Regions from separate parts of the Homo sapiens genome. Here region 2 is linked to region 1. The links are contacts of gene promoters, found by promoter capture Hi-C in human tissues and cell types (Jung and others, 2019). All regions are on one chromosome and are shown on one strand. The core of a region is centred on a gene start or on the middle of the fragment in contact, and the rest is flanking DNA. Distances in the headings are between cores, read along the strand shown. Region 1 holds the start of CNOT6L (CCR4-NOT transcription complex subunit 6 like). Region 2 has its middle 16 kb from the start of CXCL13.

Evidence for each region. The method cuts DNA at HindIII sites, captures the fragments that hold promoters and counts their contacts. A contact is called where the count stands out against the background at its distance.
Region 2: a fragment that was not itself captured here is called in contact with the fragment with the promoter of CNOT6L in region 1 in 1 of the 25 tissues and cell types used here (hippocampus).

What each region holds. Positions count from the first base shown.
Region 1 is chr4:77,815,788-77,821,839 of GRCh38, reverse strand. CNOT6L (CCR4-NOT transcription complex subunit 6 like) reads left to right here and starts at 2,472. Exons shown (of 12, transcript NM_144571.3): 1 at 2,472-2,536. The coding sequence starts at 2,532. RefSeq lists silencers at 1,426-1,575, 1,836-1,995, 2,036-2,135, 2,626-2,695, 2,776-3,175. The HindIII fragment of the contact is 8,896 bases long and covers 1-5,693 here.
Region 2 is chr4:77,618,797-77,624,848 of GRCh38, reverse strand. No RefSeq gene overlaps it. Among named protein-coding and RNA genes, the nearest start is that of CXCL13, 16 kb to the right of the region's middle. RefSeq lists a silencer at 5,979-6,052. The HindIII fragment of the contact is 4,517 bases long and covers 191-4,707 here.

The DNA.
Region 1 (6,052 bases), core at 1,223-3,722:
GCATCTGGAACATAATATGCCCTCCATATGTGTTTATTGTATATGAATGAAAATTCATTGAATACTCACAGAAAATTCATATAAATTTATTGTTATTTAAAGATGCTTAAATCTGTGAGGCTATCACATTATCTGATTTACATTTTTTCAGGTATTTATTTTCCTCTTTCCTTCTATAATTGGTGGTATTTCTCCCTGGGAGAGTGTTTGTGTGCTACGGAGAAATACTGTGGCAAGATGCCATTGAGGCAGGTCCACTATTTGGACTCCTGAAGTGACTTGCTTGGCTTTGCTGCTTACAAAGCCAAAGATAATTATTCATTTTATGTCAGCCTAGACTCTTAGATAGTTGGGAAAGAGTGAGACTTCTTCCAGGCTTAAGGCCATTTTGACATGTTTCACAGAAGATGGTGTGGGGCTGGTGTTGCTAGGGAGGGAAATGGAAAATTAACATAGGTAGAAAAGAAAATAGTCTGTCGTCTTGTGAACTGAGGGGCTTTTTTACTCACTCATTCACCCATCCTGGTGCCAAGATGAAAGTGGTGCAATAGTTCTGCAATTATGGACTCTTGTAACAGCTGTTCAGTTTTAGCTAAATGATGATTTGCATTTTCACCGCACCTTTTCCCCCAAGAGATGAAGGCATTTTACATTCAGTAATAAGGCCTAAGATGAATTGCAACCAACGCAACGTGCTTAGTGTGCTAAACACTCCTGTGGGGGAAAAAATACTGAACATTGCTAATATACCCTTGACCAACACTGGTAAATACACGAGCCCGGGCATGCATTGAGAAAGAGATTAAAATTGTGCAAAACTGCAACAGCAGTACTCTGCCTCCACAGCCGGTGTAATTTGCTTTTTGGACTGCTGGCCCAAAAAAGCTGAAGCTGGCCCACAAAAACAAAAACAAACCCCAGAAACTTAAAGTATCACAGCCAGGTTCACCAAGTAAACACTACTATTTCTAGTTTGCATTTGGATGTTTTCATTCTGTAGATGGCATGGATAAGCTACAAACAACAAACTAAAGTCTACAACGAGAAGGGAGAATTAGAAAATAGGACCGGGTTATCGCTGAGCGTCACAGGTTCTTTTATTTACCTTTGACGATACAACTTACAGATGCTATATGTTTTTAAAAAAAATCCACCGAATATGTCAGGAAACATTTCCTTCGGTCACTTCACCTCCCCTGGCGTCTCAGCCACCTAGACCTACGCTCTGCTTCGCTGTCAGGTCGCCTCGGGCGAGGAGGGTGCAGTAAACAGCGCCCACACAAGAACCCGGGGTGAGGCGGTTTCCCGTCTCTTCGCCAAGGCTCTGTGGATGTGGGTTTCTGAAACTCTACCACTCTTCTCAGCCCCGCTCCTCGCTCAGGCCAGGAAAAAAGAGTGAGAAAACAGCCAGAGCAAAACAGAAAACCATTAAGAAGCCCGGGCCTCCGCGCGCTCACCGCGACAAAACGCGGCGCACGGGGGGCGGGGCCAAGGCGCTGCGTAGGAGCTCCGCCCCGTCACCGCCCCGCCTCCTTCCCCTCACCCCAACCCTCCGCGCCGGGGAGTGACTGACTCCCGCCAGCCCCTCCACGTCAATCAACCCTCCTCGTTCTCGCACTCTCTGCACCTTGTTATTAATCTCAATACCGATATCGCCCGGACGCCTCTCCCCCGGCCCTCGGGGGTGTGAACGTGTGTGAGCGGGAGCGAAGGCACCGAAAGCTGGCGTCTCTGTTCAACCTCGGCCCCAGCAGCACCCGGCGCAGCGGCAACCCCCGCAGCGGCGGCAGCCCCAGCACCAGGAGGCCAAGGCCAAGGCCAGGCTCTGCGTGGCTCTCGGAGCAGTAGCCGCGGCTCCGGCCCTGCGGGGGCGCAGCTTCCTTCGGCTGGGGCCTTCGCGCCGGCGGCCGCGGCCGCGGGGCCTCTCTTGCGCGCCTGGGGTCACTGTCCTCGAAGCCCGGCGGCGCGGCCCTCGTCCCCCTTCCCGACCCCCGGTCTGTCTCCTCGCTCCCTTCAGCCGCCTTCCGCGCCGCCGCCTCTGCCGTTCGTCAGGCGGCCCGGCCCGGCCCGCCCGCCCCGCATCCCCTCCGGCCGGTGCCTCTCCCCTCCGGCGGGCTGCCTGCATGTCTTTGCTGCCCTCAGCCCCGCCGCCACCGCCGCCGCCGCCTCCCCCGCCGCCGCAGCACCAGCACCAGCCGCCCCGTCGCCGCCGCCGCCGCCGCCGCCCGGACCCCGGCGCGCTGAATGCAGGTGAGGAGGGGGCGCGGGCCCCCCGAGACCCCGGGCCCGGGTTCCCTGCGCGCCCGCCCGCGAGCCCCGGTTACGGGCCCTGTGTGCCGCCGCGGCTTCCCCTCGGGGCGGGCGGGAGCGAGGCCCGCCGTGGGTGTTTGTGTTTGCGTCTGCGTCTGCGGCCGCGGCTCTGGAGGGGAAGCATCTGTGGGGGCCTGGTGCGCGCGCGCGCGCGTGTTTGTGTGTGTGTTTCCCCTGCCGCGGGGAAATGGCTGCTGTTGCTTCTGGGCCAGAGGAAGAGAATGAGGTAGAGTGTTCTTTTGCCTCCGAGTAGGACCGAGAGTGTTGGGAAGAGGAGCGCGTCCCCGGGGAAATGAGGTGGGAGAGGGACAAATGTGCGTGTGGGTGTGCGAGTTGGGACTTTGGCGGGCGGGGAGGCGGCCCGAGGACCCACGGCGAGTGGGTGTGTGTCGGGTGACTGGAGGGGGCGGCGGGGCTGACCCGCGTCTCTTCAGAGGCGGGCGAAGGTTCCGGGGTGTGTGTGTGTGTGTGTGTGTGTGTCGGGGGTGGCCCGGGGCCGGGACCCCAGAGTGGCGTGTCCCTCCCGCTTTGTGGCTGCGGCTCCCGAGCCTCGCAGGTGAGAGCTGCTCCTAGGGGGCCGGCCGGGGAGGGCTGAGTGAGTGCGGCACACGCGCGGCAGCGGGGCTGGGAGAGCTGCTGGTCGGTGCCGCGCCGCTGATCCCGGGGCCGCCGTTCCCCGGCCGCGGCAGGAAGCGCGCCGGCCTGCAGCGCGGCCTAACTGCCTGGGCGCCCGCCCACCTCCCCGGACGCCTCCCGGGACGGCGAGCCCGCGCGAGCCCACGGCGCTGCCTCGGGCCTGGGCAGGTGAGGGTCGGAGGCGGGACTCGCCGATTGCCGTCGCCGTGGCCGCCTCCGCGTCTCCTGAGAGGCGAAGGCTTATTTTGGCGTTCCAACTGCAAGCCTTCGCCCGGCCGGCTGTGGGACCCGAGGGAGGAAAGTGAATCAGAACAGTCAGTCTTGGGAATACGCGGTGTCGTGTTCCCTTCTTTTCATCCTTCCCCTAAGGCTGTGTGGAGGGACTGAGTAAATATTTTGGATTTTTGTTGCAAATACTTTGCCGTTGGTAAGATTTTTTTTTTTTTAATTAGACAAACATTTTCTTGGAAGGGCTGAGGAAGAAAGGGAAACTGGCTTTCCTGGCCTGTGGGATTGGATGGATTTTGTGCATTTGAAATTGTTTTATCCTGCCTCCTAGGGGGAGAGGCGTGTACGCGCCGCCGAGCTGAGGAGCTGGGTGAGGAAGAGGAAGTTACTGGAGCTGTCATCCTGCTTAACTCGGTCGGCTATTGAGCTTAGACTGTTTAGGTGGATTGTGTTCAGGGAGTTTAGCTGAGCCGTTTGTACACATTGGAAGCACAGTGTTACATTTTACCGTATTGCCTCTAGTTATCTTGTCAATCAAGATAGGCTCAACAAACATGTTTTCCTCAGTCTCCAAAAACTAGATCAAGCAACCTCTGTTGTCTACTCAGTATGTGCTGCTGGAAAGCTATTTTGAGAATAGCCTAAGCAAAACCCAGTTGTAAAGATAAACCTGCTGCCAATAGGTCTACAGTACATTTCAGAACCAAATACAAATGGCATTTGGATAATTATTTGCTAATGTGCTTTTCTACTCCAACCTCATTACATTTGTATGTAGTTAGATCATTTAGCTAGAACCGTGCTGTGGATAAAAGCATAATACAGTTTCGATCCTTGTAGGCCGTACTCTGTGTCATGGCCAGAGATTGCTCTTTGCACCTGGTCTCACAAAGAAATAGTGTATGCTGTTCACGGGGAAGTGGAGGGAAGAGAAGGAGGGGCGAAGAGCTGTTCTCTATTACCACTACTGGAAAAACAATTTAACATACGTAGTTAGTGGGAAAAGGACTTGTTTTACAGACTTCAGTTAGCCTCCCAGCTGTGTGATTTTTCCTTAGCTGTTTGACCTTAGGTAACATATCTATAAGCCACAGTTTTATCAGTCACAGAGAGCTAATACCTTTATAGTAAGGTCGTTTTGAGAATAGAATGAGAAAACATATGTTTGGCATGTAGTAGATGCTTAGTTAAATTTTAGTTCTGCCTCCTGCAGCCCTGACTATGGGCATTGAAGAACCTTTGCAAACACAAATATGATTAATTATTTAGAGCAATATTAAGTAACTATAACGTAAAAAAGACAATGGAATCTTTCAGAGCCCTTCAGTATACAAAAGGTATATATATAAACTTTAATGTATATAAGAAGTTTTTTTCTAATAATAAAAATAGTCATTAAAATAGCCTAGTTATTTATAAAAATAGTCATACTTAATTTTTTTTTCATATTTTCAAATAGACCATCTCTCAGTTTCATTATTCTTTATGATTTTCGTTTTGTAGCCCTGGAAAAAAATTTTCAACCTCTATATAGCACATGTATGTTTCAATACAGTTAAACATTAAAAAGGATCAAGGAACCAAAATTTAGATAGATCCCCAAAGTTTAAATGCTACGAAAAATGCTAGCTCATGTTGACTGATTTGGTAAATAAAACTTCTTAGAATATTTCTCTGAATATAAGGTAAAATCCTCTGTCCACTTAATTTTCAATAACTTTCCATTTTTAGTATTTTCTCTGGAGTAGGAAATGTGTTCATTAAATTTTAACTGCTGTGTGGAAAAAATAATGTCATGGAGAGGTATGGAATTTAAGGTAAAGATAACAGAAAAGTTAACATAAAGATTGTTTTCTTTTTGTTTTGGGAAAAGACAGGACAGAGAATGTGGGAGTTTGATTGGTTTAAGTTTGTCATGGCCCTATTTACAAATGCCGGGTTTCCCAGTAGGGCTTACGTAATTTATTTGTATCAATAATGATAAGCTTTAAAAAATATTATTTTCTAAAATTCAAACTAAAATTTCAACACATTCAGTATAGCTTTTATGCATATTTTTATATAAAAATTTCTGTGAAGGTAAGAGTCACAGGATGGGGAGGGGGAAGCTCTCATCATTGAGGGGCTTGAATTTTTATAAATAACTAGGGGCAACTATTAGAATGCAAATTGTGATTTTCTTAAAGTGTGTGTTGTGGGAGTGTGTATTTACATTGAACAGAATCTTCTGCCATGTGGTTATATTTAAAGGAATAATTCTTACCTTAAAACTATAAATGATACTTTTTAATACCTTAGAAACAAAGAAATAGAAATGAATCTGCTCTTATTTAGTATTTGGTAAAGTAATTTTCATTGGACTTTATGAATTATTTTAAAAGACTTTATATATATATTTTTTAATTTGGGAGAATTGGGAAGAACATTTCCCTGTAGTAATCATGAAAACAGATGATATTGAACTATAAAGATATTTGGATATGAAGTGGAAGTACTAAGGTTATTATTTAGACTAAAGGAATTATGTTACAACAAAATCAAGGTGGAAACTTGTTTAGATTTTAAAAGTTAATGTTACTTAAATGGGCTTTTAAGCAATCTTTCCAAAATATCTGTTATTAATGTCTTTAATTTGGGAGAATTGGAATACTTAGGAATTTCTGTATGTATTACTTTGGGTAATGCTAATCAGAGTAATAAATACATTCCAAAATTTCAAAGAAGTTTACTTGCTTTCATGACAGTTCCAGTGCAGATGTTTACTTGCTTTCATGACAGTTTACTTGCTTTCATGACAGTTCCAGTGCAGGTGCTCCTGGTTAGCAGGTTTCTTGTGGCTTTCCTCTTATGTTGTTTAGGGACTCATACAACTTAGATC
Region 2 (6,052 bases), core at 1,200-3,699, 200 kb after region 1:
ATCCATCCCAGTTCACAACAGGTGAAAGTATTAACAATTGCACTACCACCTGTGTCAGGGGCCCTGCATGCTCCTTGTAGGACTAGTAATGTGGTTCTCATTGCCAGCTGTCTGGCAGGTGATTCAGATTCAGAATCCCTTTTTAACATCTGCTTTCTTGAACAACTTCTATTGCAGGCCAGGTTCCCTGGTAAGCATACCGATAGGGAGATTAGCAAACAGAAAGTTAATCTGGGAGTGTTTGTAGGATTAATACCTGTCGGTAAAGGGGAGGAAGCAGGATTAAGCAGAGGGAGAAGTTGAACATGAGACAGCCACAGCAAAGGCCTCAGTGAGGCTGCAGGAAGTTCTGAAGCTGGGATGGCTGTCAGATTTGGCCCGAGGTGAGAAGGTGGGATAGAATATTTATACCATTGCATCAACCAGCTTTGGATGCGGGCTGCTCCCAGGAAGGGTGTATAACCTTGAGCGAGGGCAATTTTCAGAGCTCCACAGCTGCTGCCAGCTGCATGGATAGCAGCTGAAAGAAAAGTGCTTCATTCCTTAAAGTGGATCTGATGGCCCAGCACAGCCTCCATCACACTGTATCACTTCCCCCCACCTTCACTGTGTTGCCTGGATCACCTCTAGCATAAAGTACTTTCACCCACATCCTTGGATCAAAGTTGGCTTCAACAGAAGCCTGAACTAAAACAGCCTCCCAGGAGGCTAAGCAGTTTTAAAGTAGACAGGTGTAATAGCAATAAGTGTAATAATTACTAATTATCACAGTGATAGGTGACACTTGCTGCATGTTTTACAGGTAGTGATTCACACCCTCATTTTCTTTACCTCTTAAGTGAGGGTGTTAGATTAGATGACTACTAAGATACCTTCCAACTCAAATGTTGTTCTACAATCTCCTTTTCTGTTCAAACTTAACTCACAACATAAGGTCCCACCTCTCATTTCTCCTGGGGCTCTGCGCCTATTGGCAAAGAATGGGGTAGGAAATATTTACAAAGATTAGCTTTGCTGTTTTATTTATTTAAAAGGCCACTCATTCTTTTAAGCAGAGACCTGGTGAAGAGCTGGGCCCCTGTGCTAAGGTTAAGGGGTTAATAGTGGTCGCTGCCTTCCCTGTTCTTCTGAGGTCCTGCAAATTTTGCAGAAGGTGAGGGAGTTGCTCTTACAGGCGGGGTGTTGGTAACAAACAAAATGCCCCCACAAATTTCCAATGAGTGACAGCATTTGGTGGCTCTGGCCTAGAGATGTGAGAAGCATCCCCTAATGTGCAGGAGAGTCAGGCGCCAGGAATAAAAATGCCCACAGTGTCCTGTTGAGAAGCCACAAGAGGCTATTCCTTGAGTCTTTCCACTTTCCACCTCCTATAAAGGAAAAGCATTATAGGTACATAAAATCATCTATTGAGGGAGGTTGTGTGAGGAGAAAAAGAAACTAGAGATAATCCAAATTGTAGATGTCTATATATGTGGACAAGACACATGCTTAGTTTTTCCATATTTAGTTCCACACATAATTAGAGGACATTATGAAGACTTGGCTCTCCCCGTGAACTTTCCCCCTCCATAAGCTTATGCATGGCTATGAGTCAGAATGTAGCAAATTGTATTTCTTCCAAAATTTCTTAAGGCAAACGAAGAGATAATCTGTAAAGTAGAAGAATCCTTTATTCAGTTCTCACTGCTTGTTTATTTTGAGTTTAAAATAATAAAGCACATTAATTGGAAAGGACAATAAACATTGATGGTGAGGGTGAAGACAGCGAAGTGAGTGTAGAGAAGCCGCTATCCTGCTCTGAGACCTGGCAAGCATCCTTCTCATAGGGTAATTTAGTTTGTTTTTACAGATCGTATCAATCTGTAAAGTCTATGTTTTAGGGAAGATCACCCAACCAGTAACAAATCCCAGCAGGATAAAAAGGGTGCTAAGATGTAGTTATGTAGTTATGTAATTGTAGATCTAGTTATGCAGAACAAGAGACAAATTTTTAGTAAAGCCTAGATCATAGTTTGGAGAACATCAGGTTGCTAAAACATTTTCTCTGTTTTTGGAATACATTTGGCCTGCAAAATCATAAATCATAAAAAATAAATCATGAAAAGTTAGATTGGAATCAGAGATTTGATATGCTCTAGAACTTGGTTTGACTTTGCACTTGTGTATTTAATTAAGAGACAATAGACGCATATTAAGATGTTCCAGACCAAGTCCCTAAATGTGAGCATTTCCATGACTGAAAGAGAACTCTTTTTACAATTGTCAGTGAATTTAAGGTCTGAAGGGAACGTGAGTATAGAAAGGATTGTTAATATTTGCTTGAGTTCAGAATTAATGTTTAGTTTTAAAGTTTAGGTTTATCAATTTTACATTTTCATCAAGCTCAGCCTACTAATCTTACTCTAATGTTTATATAATATTAATAATCACTTTTACATGCTGTTTAATCAATGTTAATGAACTCCACCCAACGAATATAACTGTCTTTAAACAATCAGACTAATTTACAAATTTGCTTTAATACATTCTTTTCAAGATTTTAGAATAAATATCTTATTTCACTTTTGCTAGTTATTTCAAATGCTTATGCAAGACAAAATTACAACCCTAACAAGTCTTCCTGACCACGTATGAAAATCTTGTTAATCAAATACATAATATCATACATTTTTCATGTTGAGTTTTCTTAAACATTCCAATATCCTTAAAATTTATATTAAACTTTTTTGCTTAAACTCACAGTTAAATTAGTGATACACTTCAAACTGAAGTCATGTTTTCCTGAGAGACCAGATTCTTTTACACTTTATAAATACATGAATTTGATTTATTCCATCATCTGTAAATTTAATTCTGAATGACCTTGGCTTGTAAAGTCACTTCCCCAAGTAAGGAGCAGTCATTTACGTGGCCAGATGCAGTGGTGGAAATGAAGTGGATGGATCCCAGAGATATTAAGGAGGTGGGGAAATGAAATCACTCTTGGTGAATGATTTAAAAAGGGAGGTTGTTGTTGGTGGGGGGGTCAAGGATGACACAACAGCTTAATTTTAATGGATGGCAATACCAACATTTGCCTGGACAGGGAGTATTTAGGGGAGGGGAGGCTGTGGGAAGGGTAGGGATGTGAGTTTTAGGACCAGATAGTGCCTTAGCAATTGTCTATATCACTTCTCACCCAAAGGTAAGGGAGTTGAGACTCATAAATGGAGTGATTTCTTTTTAAGTAAGAAACCTTTTAATAAAATAAGCTTCTTTGATGTTACAGAGCTAGAGAGTGACACCAGGTTTCTCCTAGACTCACTTCCTTTTAGTATTTCTGTCTCAGAAATGGACAGGATGAAGTGGGATCCTGCTAGACATCATTCTCCTTGTCTTGCCAGTCCTAGAACACAAAAAAGCAAATAGGAAAAGCAAATAGAAACCTGCCAGTACTGGAACACTGAGAAGTAAACAGAAAAAGCAAACTAAAAAAATTGCTTCCAAGATTTTGCTCACAACCTGAGATGATACAAGAAAAGGACTTAAAAAAAAAAAAACAAAACAAAACAAAACCTAAGCTTATCAATCAAGCAGGTACAGAATATAAACAACAAACAAGTCATCATTTTGCCTTTAGTAAGATGCCACACCAACACACCACCAACTTCCCAGGTTGGATAAGAGCACGGGGCCAGATGTCAAAATTGTAAAGCTTGTCCTAAGGTGGCAGGACACAAGGAAGCATTTTTGTTGTTAATTGATGTTGCCTTTAGCATTGCCAAAAACCCCCTCAGATTTTGGCCAAGGCTTTCCCAGTTACACAAATGACTTACATTAAATGGGCTGGATGATCTTACTAGTCCCAGGTCCACACTGAGGTTGCAGTTCTGTTTTGAGGAAACTCCGGGGTGCAAAGCCAGAGCACGTGGACAATGGAGGGTGCCAACAAAGAGTTGGGATACTTCCTCAATTTTTATCTTCCTTGGAATTTTAGCTTTTGCTAGGAAAATACCTTCGTTCTTTACTTTGTGAAAAAAGAGACTTGGAGGAGACTTCAAGTTCCCTTCCAGTCAGTGGGATTTAGAATTGGCCAGAGTTTCCAGGAATCACAGGCCTTTGTAGAAAGTGGAACTGCCCTACCTGCCTTTCACATGTGCACCACGAGTCGGGGGGACATGGCCCAAGTGGCTGGGTGGGCTCCCTGAGGAATCAGCAGGTCCACATTCAAGAGTCTCCGTAAGAAGTACTTAGAAAAAAGTCTCTCTTTCATTAATTTCATAAGGGTAGTGGGATAATAAAAACAGTATACAAATAAGGAGGTTGTAAAAATGTTTGCTTTTAACAAAGAGGGAAAAAATAATAACTCCAGAGACTTAAATCTAGGTTAGATGAATTGCGGCAACATGAATCCTGCTAACCCCAGTTTACAACCTCATTGCAATTGCAGTTTTCAGATTCTCATTAACTTCAGTGAAAAGTGCATCTGCCTCTGAGTTATCTTAGGTGGGCGAATGTGGGGAGATGCTTTCATTAAAAAAAAAAAAAAAAAGATCTGCTGGATATTTCCAAACCGGAATTCATTGAAGTTGCTCCTAGGCAGGAAATTTATAAGTTGAAATTAGTGATAAAACATACAAGAATTTCCAAAGCTAAGCAAAATGCCCAGCAAAATTAAAAATGTCCTCTGTCCTTGTGGACACCATGATTGCTTATCAGGGATGTCCACCATTCTGCACTGATAAAAAGTGACCACTGCATATGAAATAGCTCCTTAATTGAAAGCGAGAGTCACTGTGCCTTTCTTTGCTTACTGGTATTTTTAATTTCTAGGAGGTGGGAGGTAGAAAGAGCAGAACATGCAAATAAAGCAAATGGAAAGACACAAAGCTGGGGCTCGTGATTCAGGCAAGAACGCTGTGTGAACTAACCTGCCATTTGTGATAAAGTACTTTAGAAATGTCAATTTTATTACTGAATAATGGGTCTCAGCATGACTGAACTCTTGGCAATTATTTTACATCTAATTTGGGATGATGCATAAAAGAAAATCGAGCACAGATTACTTTAGCTTGGCACCTGGCAGCTGATAATGAACTGGTATAGATTGTCTTGCTCAGAACAATAAAGTCTCTATCTGCTGCTAGTTTCAGCTGACATTGGGCTGGTAGCCACATTTCTTCTATTCCTCTCTTTGGTCTGTTCTGGAGGTCATATGATAAGCTGTGTTTGCTGGTTTTAGGTTTCATCTTCCTGGGTCAGTTCTAGGGTACACTGCATTACCATGTTTGATGTTTCCACATTACACCATTCACCACTGGATGCCAGCAGAGCACTGCGGCTTGAAGTCAAAGGGTTGGACATGACCATTTCTAGAAGGCCAGTGGAATGGCATCAGAAATTGAACAATCCTAATTTCCTGGCATTTATGAATCCCAGTAATGACCCCAAGTTAGCTGATTTGAAAATGAGTTTATTCTTAGTTCCATAAGGGCTAGATGTTATTTTCATCTGAACATTTAGAATAATGAGATTCAGAGAATTGAATATGTTAGTGAATCATAGCAGAACCAAATTTTGATTCAAAATCTTCTAACTTCTACTTCTTTTCCTTCTCCTTAGCTTGGGGGAAGACCTAACTTGAAGAATGAGGGCTTACCTGTGAAAATTGATTGTATATTGTCTTTTGGCAGTGAGGAGGTAGGGAGAAATGTAAAAGACAAAATATAAGGGAAAAAAGCTTCTCAGTGTTAGTTGCATATAAATCACTGTTTCTTGTTGAAATGTAGGTTCTGATTCCGATTCTCCAATGTTGCTGGTTGGGAGGCCGTACTTTAAGAGTGAAGACCGTGGAGTCCCGAGTCTGGGCACCGATAGAAAAGAATCACCTGATTTCCTTGTCCGCAATCCCTGGGAGACACTCTTCAGGGTCTGACTGAATGGAAAAGGAAGCAGGGAATCCGGTCCAACGTTAATGTCACCGCCCTCACTGCCCTCTTCAATTTGAACATGGTATTTCTGGCAGTAGCCACCAGAGGGTGCTAAAGAACCTCCTTGAAACGGCTGCAGAGCC